Linked DNA regions of Homo sapiens: regions 1 and 3 are each linked to region 2. Evidence: promoter capture Hi-C in 16 types of primary human blood cells and fetal thymus (Javierre and others, 2016). All regions are on one chromosome and are shown on one strand. Each heading gives the region's core, a stretch centred on a gene start or on the middle of the fragment in contact. The rest is flanking DNA. Distances are from core to core; before and after follow the strand shown. Region 1 overlaps SLC67A1 (solute carrier family 67 member 1). Region 2 holds the start of MRGPRG-AS1 (MRGPRG antisense RNA 1). Region 3 overlaps NAP1L4 (nucleosome assembly protein 1 like 4).

What was found. Contacts are between HindIII fragments. The CHiCAGO score rates a contact against its expected background, and 5 or more counts as called.
Region 1: a contact is called between a fragment that was not itself captured here and the fragment with the promoter of MRGPRG-AS1 in region 2, in 1 of 17 cell types (erythroblasts). The highest score is 5.2, in erythroblasts.
Region 3: a fragment that was not itself captured here is called in contact with the fragment with the promoter of MRGPRG-AS1 in region 2 in 5 of 17 cell types (M2 macrophages, M0 macrophages, M1 macrophages and 2 more); the score reaches 10.2 in M2 macrophages.

Annotation. Positions count from the first base shown.
Region 1 is chr11:2,917,051-2,920,548 of GRCh38, reverse strand. It overlaps SLC67A1 (solute carrier family 67 member 1), which reads right to left. Exons shown (of 11, transcript NM_002555.6): 7 at 2,454-2,561; 8 at 1,142-1,242. Among named protein-coding and RNA genes, the nearest start is that of PHLDA2, 11 kb to the left of the region's middle. The HindIII fragment of the contact is 2,851 bases long and covers 1-2,675 here.
Region 2 is chr11:3,216,431-3,220,024 of GRCh38, reverse strand. MRGPRG-AS1 (MRGPRG antisense RNA 1) reads right to left here and starts at 1,693. Exons shown (of 2, transcript NR_027138.1): 1 at 1,466-1,693. MRGPRG (MAS related GPR family member G) reads left to right here and starts at 1,212. Exons shown (of 1, transcript NM_001164377.1): 1 at 1,212-2,081. The coding sequence starts at 1,212. The coding sequence ends at 2,081. RefSeq lists an enhancer at 1-116. The HindIII fragment of the contact is 7,931 bases long and covers 1-3,594 here.
Region 3 is chr11:2,950,478-2,953,805 of GRCh38, reverse strand. It overlaps NAP1L4 (nucleosome assembly protein 1 like 4), which reads left to right. Exons shown (of 16, transcript NM_005969.4): 13 at 1,997-2,026; 14 at 2,491-2,547. Among named protein-coding and RNA genes, the nearest start is that of SNORA54, 12 kb to the left of the region's middle. The HindIII fragment of the contact is 2,285 bases long and covers 469-2,753 here.

The DNA of each region.
Region 1 (3,498 bases), core at 1-2,500, 300 kb after region 2:
GTCACCACCCCAGCTCTGTCTGTCTCAGGCAGGGTCCCCACTGCAGCCATGGCAGGCCCAAGTCCCCCACAACACAGGCCAATGACTGCTGTGTCCAGCCCAGCTGCAGGCTTCAGCCAGGGCCTGGCTAAGCGTCCTTCCTCGCAGTGAGCTGGGCGCAGCCTGTTCAGAACAGGCCCCATGGCAACAACCCCGGATTGTTACTATTATTGTTGCTGTTGTTTTTCTGTTTATCTCTTTTTACCCTGCCAGGGTGGCCCCTCCTGCCCCAAAAAGCAGAGGCCCTCTCTGCCCACGGTGGGGGTCCAGCCCCTCCCAGGAGCAGCTATTTTAGCACTAGTCTAGTCCTGGGCCCAGAGGCTGAAGAGCAGATGGCTTGGAGGTGCCAGGAATGCCACAGGCTTCCGGAGAGGCCGAGAGCCCCCACCCCCACCCTGGCGGGTCCCAGAATAGCCCCCCCGCCCCGCACTCTGGCTGTCAGGCAGCCATCCTGGGTGGTGGCAAATCATCACCTGTCCCCACCACCCAGGGTCTGGTCCAGAAGCCCAGAGGAGCTGGTGGTGGAGGTGTCTCGCCCCGGCCCGGGAGCTGAGCGGTTCTGGGGGGCTGGCAGACAGACACCTGCCGCATCGGAGCTGCCAGGGTTTCAGGGCATCCTTCCATGACAGTGTGGCCTCTGAGGGCTGGCGTCTTATCCTACCATGACAGCGTGGCCTCTGAGGGCTGGCGTCTTGCTCCTATGGGACCTCCAAAGGGGCCCACGCTGGTCTAACCACTTTGCCACGTTAGGTCATCTCATCTGCCAAGGACCCTGCAAGGCGGGCACTTTGGCCTCATGGGACAGATTTGGAGAGTTTGGGAGACTTGCTCTGGTCACACAGCTGGTGGGCAGGTGGGCTGCCACAGATCCCAGCCAGCTGCCCATCAGAGGCCGGAGTCCACTGTCCTCACAGCGTGCCCACCACTGCAGTTGGCTCTCCCTCCCTGGCCTGTATGCCTGGTTCCCTGTGGACCCTGACATGTGCCAGATGGGAGGCCAAGGGCTCCCCAGCCTCCGCCGGGGAGGAGCCTCTACTCTCAGAGGCCTGCCCCACTGGAGACCCCTGCCGTGCCCCCCAGCAGGCCCTGTGTGCCCACTCACCATCTGGAGGAGCCCGAAGAAGGACATGAGGTAGCCAGCTTGGGCGGCCTCCAGCTGGAAGAAGTCCATGGAGATGATGGAGAACATGACCATGAAGAGCCCTGAGCCGGGGCAGGGGAACAGGGGTGAGTACCCCCACACCCCGACCTTGGCGCCCACCTCCCTCCCGCCTCAGCAGCCTGGCCAATCAGGGTGTCTGGGCCCTGGCTGGTGACTGGTTCAGGGAGGGGCCTGTGATGCCAGCCGGGCCAATGAGACCCTTCCCTGGGATTCTGCCGTATCCCTGGTGTGGAAAGTGCCTCTCGTGTGGTTGCTAAGCTCTGGACTGTGAGCAGGAAGGTGCTGGAAGGGAGGGACCCAGGGCTGACCACGTGGGAGGATTTGGCCCCCAAGACCCACCACGGCTCTCTGTTATAAGAGCCCTCAAAGTCACGTCTGCAATCCCAGCACTTTGGGAGGCCGAAGAGGGAGGACTGATTGAGGCCAGGAGTTTGAGACCAGCCTGGAAAAGATAGTGAGACCCTGTCTCTACAAACACTTAAATTAGCTGAGCGTGGTGGCCCATGCCTGTAGTCCCAGCTGCTCGGGAGGCTGAGACAGGAGGATTGCTTGAGCCTGGGAGGTGGGGCCTACAGTGAGCTGAGATCATACCACTGCACTCCAGCCTGGTCAGTGGTCTCAAAAAAAAAAGGGCCCTCAAAGGGCCTGTTACTGAGGTTAGTAACTTGGGTTCCAGTTTTGAGAACCAACAGAGCTGGCCTAGGTGGGCTGGGTGGGACAGGGGCCGGTGCCAGTTGGAGTGCTGAGGGCCTATTCTCCATCCTGCTTCCTGGCTTCTCAGTTAGAGGAGTCCAGGCGGGGCTTCTGAGGGACAGGGCTGCTCGTGGGCTTGTCCGTGGCTCGCTATCCTATCTGTGGTCCGTGACGCCCTACGGTCTGCTGAGAGGGCCCAGGGCCAGCATGCTGCAGAAGGCAGTGGTGACACTCAGACCTGCTGTCCCTGCATCTCAGGCTGTCTGGAGAGGACGTGGGGCCACAGGGTATGAGGGTAAGAGCTGAGGAGCACACAGGGATGCATGGCTGCGAGCCAGGCCCTCTGCCCGTGGGGGCCCACCCTGGGATCTGCAGGTGTGCAGTGTAGAGGGGCTGGAAGGAGGTGGGAAAGACACTTTTCTGCCTTCCTCCCGCTCCTGCCTGCTCTACCACATCTGTGTGGACCTGTGGGGCACAGGCCAGAGGAAGGGCCGGGCCCTGGCCGCAGCTGGGACTCTGCCAGGCTCTGGCCGCTGTTGGGGCAGTAGTTGGGACTCACCTGTGGGGCAGTTGGAGGCCACCTTCACCAGGAAGATCCTCGGGACGTCTGGCAGCCGCAGCAGGGAGGCGATGGCCTTCAGGTCGAACACACTGGCCCGGGGGCCGCCTGGCACGGAGAGGCCATTCAGGCCTGCAAAGGCCATTGTCCCAATGCCCACCCCTCGCCCGGCTGCAGGCCTCGCCATTCGGAGGGCCCTGTTGCGCCCGCCAGGGTAAAGCTTCCTTCCTTGGCTTCAGCACCGCTCACTTGTGGGAATGGGAGCTGGTGATGCTCCCAGCTGCCAGGTTGGGCACCGCCCCTCAGCACACTTCTACGCATTCCTAGGGGCCCCCTGAATCCCCAGAGGCACTTAGGAAAAGCATTCTCTGCACGCAGGTAGACTGGCCTCAACCTGGGCATGCAGTGGCGGAGGCCTGCGGCAGTCCCTGAACAAGGGACCAATAGCTGCTTCCTATATGGTCCTGGCCTGGGGCCTGGGGCAGAGCATGACCAGGCCACCAGCCCAGAGGAAGACAATGGCAATACTGTACCACTCTCTGTGGCCACAAGTCACCGCCGTGGCCTGGCCCACCGGGCACCTCTGAGTGCGAAGCCACAGGCCCCCAGCCCGGCTCACCGAGTCCTTCCTCCTTATTGTCTCAGGGGCTCCTGCCTCTCTGGCTCTGCTGTGCTCGCCACAGGCCCATCTCCACCCGGCCCTCCCCCTGGACTTTCTAGGTTAATTCCATGACAGCCTCCTGCCCCAGGATGGTCCCAGGTGGGTCCCTCTGGCCCAGGCTGGGCTCTTAGTCCCTAGGCACCGAGGCATGGGCCCTGCCACGTGCCTGGCACAAAGGGGCTGCGTTCAGCAGGGGGCCAGCCTTGAGGGGACCCCCTCTGAGGAGCCTTGGCCTCTCCTCATGGGACCAGCCTGACCATCCTCTGCCCTCCACCAATGAGTGCCCCTCGGGCAGCACCCTCGCCTCTCCCTGGACACTCAGAGCTTCCGGAGCCTTGCTGGCCCACCCACCCCATTGGGGGGGTCCCTCCTGGTCCTCCCCAG
Region 2 (3,594 bases), core at 444-2,943:
GGAGGGCTCCAGGTGTGTGTTGGCGGCTTGATGGCTCTCTCTCTGTCTGTCTCTCTCTCTCTCACACACACACAGTCTGTCTCATCTCTGTTTCTCTGTGTCTATCTCTGTCTCTATCTCTCTGTAGCTCTCTGTCTCTGTCTCTCTGTCTCTGTCTCTCAATGTCTGTCTACATCTCTGTCTCTCCCTGTCTCTCTGTCTCTCTCTATCTCTCTTCTCTCTCCCGTGTCTCTCACCGCTGACGCCGCCACTGCTGAGCCTGGTCCTGATGCATCTCCCAGGACTAAGAACATGACCCATGTGGATCCTGGGGGAGGAGGGATGGCTGGAAAGGGAAGGGCTGCTCTGAGACCCTCTGCCTTTCAGCGCAGCTTCCGGTGGCCAATCTCTCTCGCACTCTGAGAACATCCTCGGGACTCTCAGCCTCGCTCCTTGCAAGTGGCCACTTGTATCTGCCCCTCCCCTTGTGTTAGTGGCTCCTGGAGAGGCCCCCTGGCCCTGCCACCATCACCAAAGCCCCTCTCTTGGCTTGAGGCTTCAGAGCAGCCTCCTGAGTGCACCGCCGGCAGCATGAGCCCCGGGATTCAGCTTCTGCTTAGGCCAGGAGTGCACAGGGAAGGCTGGGGGCTCCCTCCAGCTCCTCACACCGCATCTTCCCTCCTCCCTCCTCCTCAGACCACCTGCAGCCTCTGCCTTTGGGCACCTCCCTGGACACCTCCAGAGACCCTCCGGGGAGGGGACTTCGCCAGCAGGCTGGTCTAGGCTCACCAGGTGGGAGCCCCATGAGGGTCCACCGTGGAGAAGCTCCCACCTCTGGGGGAAGAGGAAGGCGCCACACGTGGGTTCCCCATGCACGTTCCCTCTGTCTGCAGACCCTTGTCTGGCACACGGTGGAGGGTGCAGCATCACCCTCACCACATCCATGAGGGACATGGACATCTTTTCAGCAAGTTAGTCCACCCTGCCAGGAGCCCAGGGCCTGCCCTCAGGTATGGGGAGGCATTAGGCACGCCTGACCTGAGGTGCAGAGGGCTGAGACCCGGCTGAGGTCCCGCCGCTGGGAAGGGTGGTCCAGGGGCTGCACCCAGAGGGCACCTGCAGGGCCATGGATGCCACTCCCTGTGCCCCCAGCGGGGGCACAAAAGACTCCTGAGGACCATGTCTGTCTCCATCTTGCAGGTCCCTCGCCAGCACCCTCTGAGCCGGCCAGGATGTTTGGGCTGTTCGGCCTCTGGAGAACCTTCGACAGTGTGGTCTTCTACCTGACGCTGATCGTGGGCCTCGGGGGACCGGTAGGTAACGGGCTGGTGCTCTGGAACCTCGGCTTCCGCATCAAGAAGGGCCCCTTCTCCATCTACCTGCTGCACCTGGCCGCCGCCGACTTCCTGTTCCTCTCCTGCCGTGTGGGCTTCTCCGTGGCTCAGGCTGCCCTGGGCGCCCAGGACACACTCTACTTCGTGCTCACCTTCCTGTGGTTCGCGGTGGGGCTCTGGCTGCTGGCGGCCTTCAGCGTGGAGCGCTGCCTCTCCGACCTCTTCCCCGCCTGCTACCAGGGCTGCCGGCCCAGACACGCCTCGGCCGTCCTCTGCGCCCTGGTGTGGACCCCGACCCTGCCGGCCGTGCCGCTGCCCGCCAACGCCTGCGGCCTGCTGCGCAACAGCGCGTGCCCCCTGGTCTGCCCGCGCTACCACGTGGCCAGCGTCACCTGGTTCCTGGTGCTGGCCCGCGTCGCCTGGACGGCTGGCGTGGTCCTCTTTGTCTGGGTGACCTGCTGCTCCACTCGCCCGCGGCCCAGGCTCTACGGCATCGTCCTGGGCGCGCTGCTCCTGCTCTTCTTCTGTGGCCTGCCCTCGGTCTTCTACTGGAGCCTGCAGCCCCTGCTGAACTTCCTGCTGCCCGTGTTTTCCCCGCTGGCCACGCTGCTGGCCTGCGTCAACAGCAGCTCCAAGCCCCTCATCTACTCGGGGTTGGGCCGACAGCCCGGGAAGCGGGAGCCGCTGAGGTCGGTACTGCGGAGGGCCCTGGGGGAGGGCGCCGAGCTGGGTGCCAGGGGACAGTCCCTGCCCATGGGTCTCCTATAAGTGGGCTTGCCCCGCCCACAGGGCCTGCCAGGAGGTGCCCACCCCCACCGACCCTCGCTCACCCCACACCCAGATGCTTTCAGGACCAGGAGGAGCCCCGCCCACCACCTAGCTCTTACCCTGAGCACCCAAGGGCTGGACACAGCTGGAGAGACTTGGCCCTGACCACCCCCCAGCCAGGCCTGCTGAGGATGAGGGAGGCAGAAAATGGAGCTGGAGAGAGGTCAGGCAAGGAGAGAGAAAGGAGAAGCCTCCTGAATAGGGGTGAGGACAGGCACCACGCCCCCAGGCCCAGCCCAGATCCCCTTACCCGGCCCCTCCCCACCCTGCTGCACCTGAGTCACAGGGGAGAAAACTGCACAATAAAACAGAGCCAGCCACCAGCCCACAGTGGCCGGATTGGAACCCAGGCTTCCGGACTCCTGGGCTAGGTGGGCGCCGTCCATGCCACCTGCTGGCTGAGGCTCTGATTCGCCCCCTACAGAGTTGAGGTGGAACTACTCCTTACTCCCCGCCCTGCTCAGCCATCATTGTCCTGCCCACCCCGCGGGGACCACACCCAGGGCTCTGTCCCCCTCTCTGAGGCCCAGGACTGGCAGGTGCCTGATGTCACCAGCAGAGGCCACCAGGTGGTGCTGCTTCTGCACAGAACAGACCCAGCCCCGTGGGCCGGCGGATGCAGGAGCCTCCATCCCCTCGGTCCCCTCCCATCCCCTCCCACACTGGTCCCCACCCGGCCTCTCCTGCGTCCCCAGGGCCATCCGCTCTCTGCGGGTTGCTCCCGTCTCCCACCTCTGCTCTCACCCTCCCTCCTCAGCCCTGGATCATCTGGAGCTTTTGCCCCAAGTGTTTGCTTTGGAGAGAGAGAGAGAGAGACAGAGAGAGAGAGAGAGACAGAGAGAGAGAGAAAGAGAGAGAGAGAAAAGAAAAGAAGGAAAGAAGGAAGGAAGGAAAAAGAAAGAAAGAAAGAAAGAAAGAAAGAAAGAAAGAAAGAAAGAAAGAAAGGAAGGAAGAAAGGAAGGAAAAAGAAAGAAAGAAAGCAAGAAAGCAAGAAAGCAAGAAAGCAAGAAAGAAAGAAAGAGAAGAGAAGAGAAGAGAGAAGGGGAGGGGAGGGGAGGAGGGAGGGAGGAAGGAAGCGAGGAAGGAAGGAAGGAAGGAAGGGGATCCAAGTTTCCAAAGTGCAAACCATTTGATGTGTTTTCTGACCATGAAATAAAATACTTTCTGGTCATTTTTAAAACATTCAAGCCCTACGGAAAATACTAAAAAGAGAAATCGCCAAAATTTTTTTCCACCCAAATGGGGACATTTTTGATGAAAAGCACTCCAGTTATGTATTTTTTTAAATAAAGACCTGCAGAAATTTTCTTTTTTGCCCAAATGAAGGCATTCAATGGGTGCTCTTGGTGCCGGGTGGGACATTCTGCAGCTGCCTTTGCATAAAGTTGTTCTTTTTCCACTAGAAAAGTAAAACGTTGCTCGTTTATGGAAACTTTGAAGAAGGTTAACAACT
Region 3 (3,328 bases), core at 362-2,861, 270 kb after region 2:
GTTGGGGCTTCAGACAGGGCGGCAAGAGCTTAGGTGGGTTCAAGGGCCTTAGCCCCCTGTGGCAGTAAAGGCCAACATCTCCTCACACCTCTCCCATTGTACTGAGTTCCACCAGTGGGGAGAATAGGCCAGCGTGCTCTTTATCAGCTGTTAGGTCTTAGACTGTTCATTTAACTTCTAAAACTCAACTTGCTGGCTCATCCCTAGGTTGGGAGGTGATTGCAGGTCAGGGAACATGGACAGTCAGGTAGCTGCCAAGACATAGTTTTACAAATTCTAGACCAGCACTTTCCAGTAGAACTTTCTCTGTTGATGGAACTGTCCTCTGCCTGCTTGGTCCAGTGCAGTAGGACTGACCACTTGAGGACTTGAAATATGGCTGCTGAGACTGAAGAACTGAACATTTCATTTACCTTAGTTTAAATTTAAATAGTGAGCTAAGGGCTAGTGGCTACACATTGGAAAGCTTATCTGAAACTGTTTTGATCATACACCCGTCAGTTTAAAGGACTTGAATATGCATGTGTGCTATTTGCTTACTTATATGCGGTATCTGTACTGCTGGTGAGCACTGTGCCACATTTGCTTATAGTACATGTGCGTTTCATTCACAATACGTTCAGCACAGGTACTACTGATGAGCAGTGTCAGTTAGAGGCTAGAAGTGCCAGCTCAGATTAGACTGCTCAGACTCGCATCCCCATTCTCCCTTTAGTAGCTCCACCACCTCCTTGAGCTTCAGTTTCCTCAGCTGTAAGTAGAGCTCATGGTAAAGACTCTGGTTACTTGTTAAGCCCTTAACATAGCACCTGGCACAGAGCAATGACTCAGTAAGTGTTGGCATAAAGTGTTTTACTAATGTTACTTTCTAGACCGTACCCCAACACTAGAAAGTTGTTGGAGGAGGAGGTGAATGTGGGAACCCTGGTCTTGTCTTCTCTGCACGTGGCAGCTCCTGCTCTGCCCAGGTGGGTGATGCATCTGGAGCAGCCCCTGTGCACAGCCCCTTAAGGGCAAAATGCTGTCCTTAGAGCCTTGGAATAGGCCCTGGAGCCTGCTGGAGGCTCGTTGGATCTGACGTGAAATGGAAGAATATTGAGAAGCCTTTCCCTGCCTGATGCCAGTTAGGGTCCTTAGAGCGGAAGGGCGCTGCACCGTGGCCACATCTCATCCTGGCTGCTGCGTGGCGCCAGGAGGCTGTGCACACTGTGTGAACTCCACACCAGCACAGTAGGGCCCTTCTAAGTTCCACCGAAGTTGGCTCTAAGCAAATACATGGTGTGAGCTCAACAAAATGGGAAATGTTGATAAATGAAGCTGCATTTTCATGCACTACCCTTGTTATGCAACCAGTAGTGATAAGGTGGTTTTGCTTTTGGTGTAAGTCTCATGTTTGAAACTTGATTTTTAGTCTGACCAATGATGTATTTGGATGTAGGAGAAACTGATTCAAGACAATTGACTAATGGTGGAGGTTCACCTTTGAGCACCTTATTGATCACTTTAAAGATTAAACACCAAAGTTTTAATATATTTCTACTAAGGTTTCTTTTCCCTTTGTATGAGATGTAAAATGATACCCAGATTCCTGTATCCAATAACATTATGCTGCTGGTTCGATCAGCCTTGTAGAAAATTTAAGGAAAACAAATTCATCGGTTTACAAAAATCTTTTCCTGTGTGCCTGCTCCTCGGTGTGAGAACAGCCAGGGCAGAGCTGTGGTGCCAGGTTCCCAGCTGTGTCCAGGGTACACCCTGGCTGACCAGCTTCCTATCCTATTCCTTGTTTTGCGTGACTTTCAATTTCCTGGCATGCTTTTAAAATGCGCTGCACACAAGCAAATGGCTCCTCAGGCAAGCGAGGCCCAGCAGGCAGCGTGGCTGGACTTTCTGCTCCTCTTAGGCTTGGTCAGTGAGTCACTTGATGGGACTGGTGTCTTGGGCAGGCTGCTGTCATGTTTTGTAAACCTAAAAATGTTTTTCTGTGTTTCTCCAGTTTGAAGAAGGTGAAGAAGGAGAAGAGGAGGTAAGAGACAGGTTTATGCAGTGCCACTTACCTCCCTGAAGTTGTTTCTTTGGCTTTCTCTGCTTGAAGGTTATGGACTCACAGGGCTGTGTTAAACCCATTTTTTGTGACGCTGTCTTTGATTCTAAGAATGTTCTTAAAACACTAAGCAGAAATGCATAGCAAATGCTGTGACAGTTTCCATCGTTTTTGACCCTGCAGTTGGTTCATGAAAATGTATCTTAGAAAATAATCATTTAACAAAATCTACTTTTTCAGAATTTTGTTTCTTTCAGGGCTCTCTGTGAGAACAAAAAGATACCTAGAAATAATTCTAAGTGTCCAAAGGAAGTGATGAGTCACTTGTGGGTAGCAGTAATTGATTTCCATCTAAGGCAGTGTTTTGCTCCTTGTGTTTGTGGATTGTGAATGCCACAAGAGTTTAAATCTTGTCATTCCAGCTAATTCTCACTTTTTAAATACAGGAATTAGAAGGTGACGAGGAGGGAGAAGACGAGGATGATGCGGAAATTAACCCCAAGGTTGGTAACTTTGGGGCCACCCAGACCTACTTATTATGCTGCACTCTTAGACTTTTAAAAATGTTCCCCACTTTGAGGCAGTAGTGTTAACAATATTCATTATTCCCTAATTAGAAAGTTTAAAATGTGTCAGAAAAATAGTGGAATGATTATTCAGACACTGTGTCTATAATTTGAGTGTTGAGTGTACATACTCAGTAGAAGCTTTTCCAGCTGTCTCAAGCTGTGTCTTATTTACATAGACTCCTCAGTAGAGCAACTTGACTTTCCAAGTGTTTCATTCTTTTAAGGTAAGGTAATGATTTAACTGACAACATAAATAAACTTTTCTTTGTGCGTGTTTGGAAAAGGTGCAAAGAAGGGACTTTGGGGCTCTTTTTGTTAAGGAACAGAATAATGGGATTGTGGGCATCATTTGACCCAGTTGCACTTGAGCTGAGCATGCCCAGATGATGTGTCTAGATATCTCATATGTCTCAGATAATTTAAAATAAATTGGAAAGGTTTACTAAAGAAAACTGAGTTGAAAATGAGTGGGCAACCCCATTAATTTTACCTGCAAATTTAGATTTTTATTTGTGGTCTCAGAGTAACTTAAATCAAGGTACTTTGACCATTTGGCACATTTTAAAATCAGAAGTGCTTAAATGTCATCCTACAGCATCATAAGAGTTTCTTCTTGTAAAACATGAAATGTGTAGTTCACTTGCCTCTTAAAATTAAGTATATTATGGGCTGTCAGAATACTAACGTTACCTGGTGTTTTTGTAATGTGTCTCTG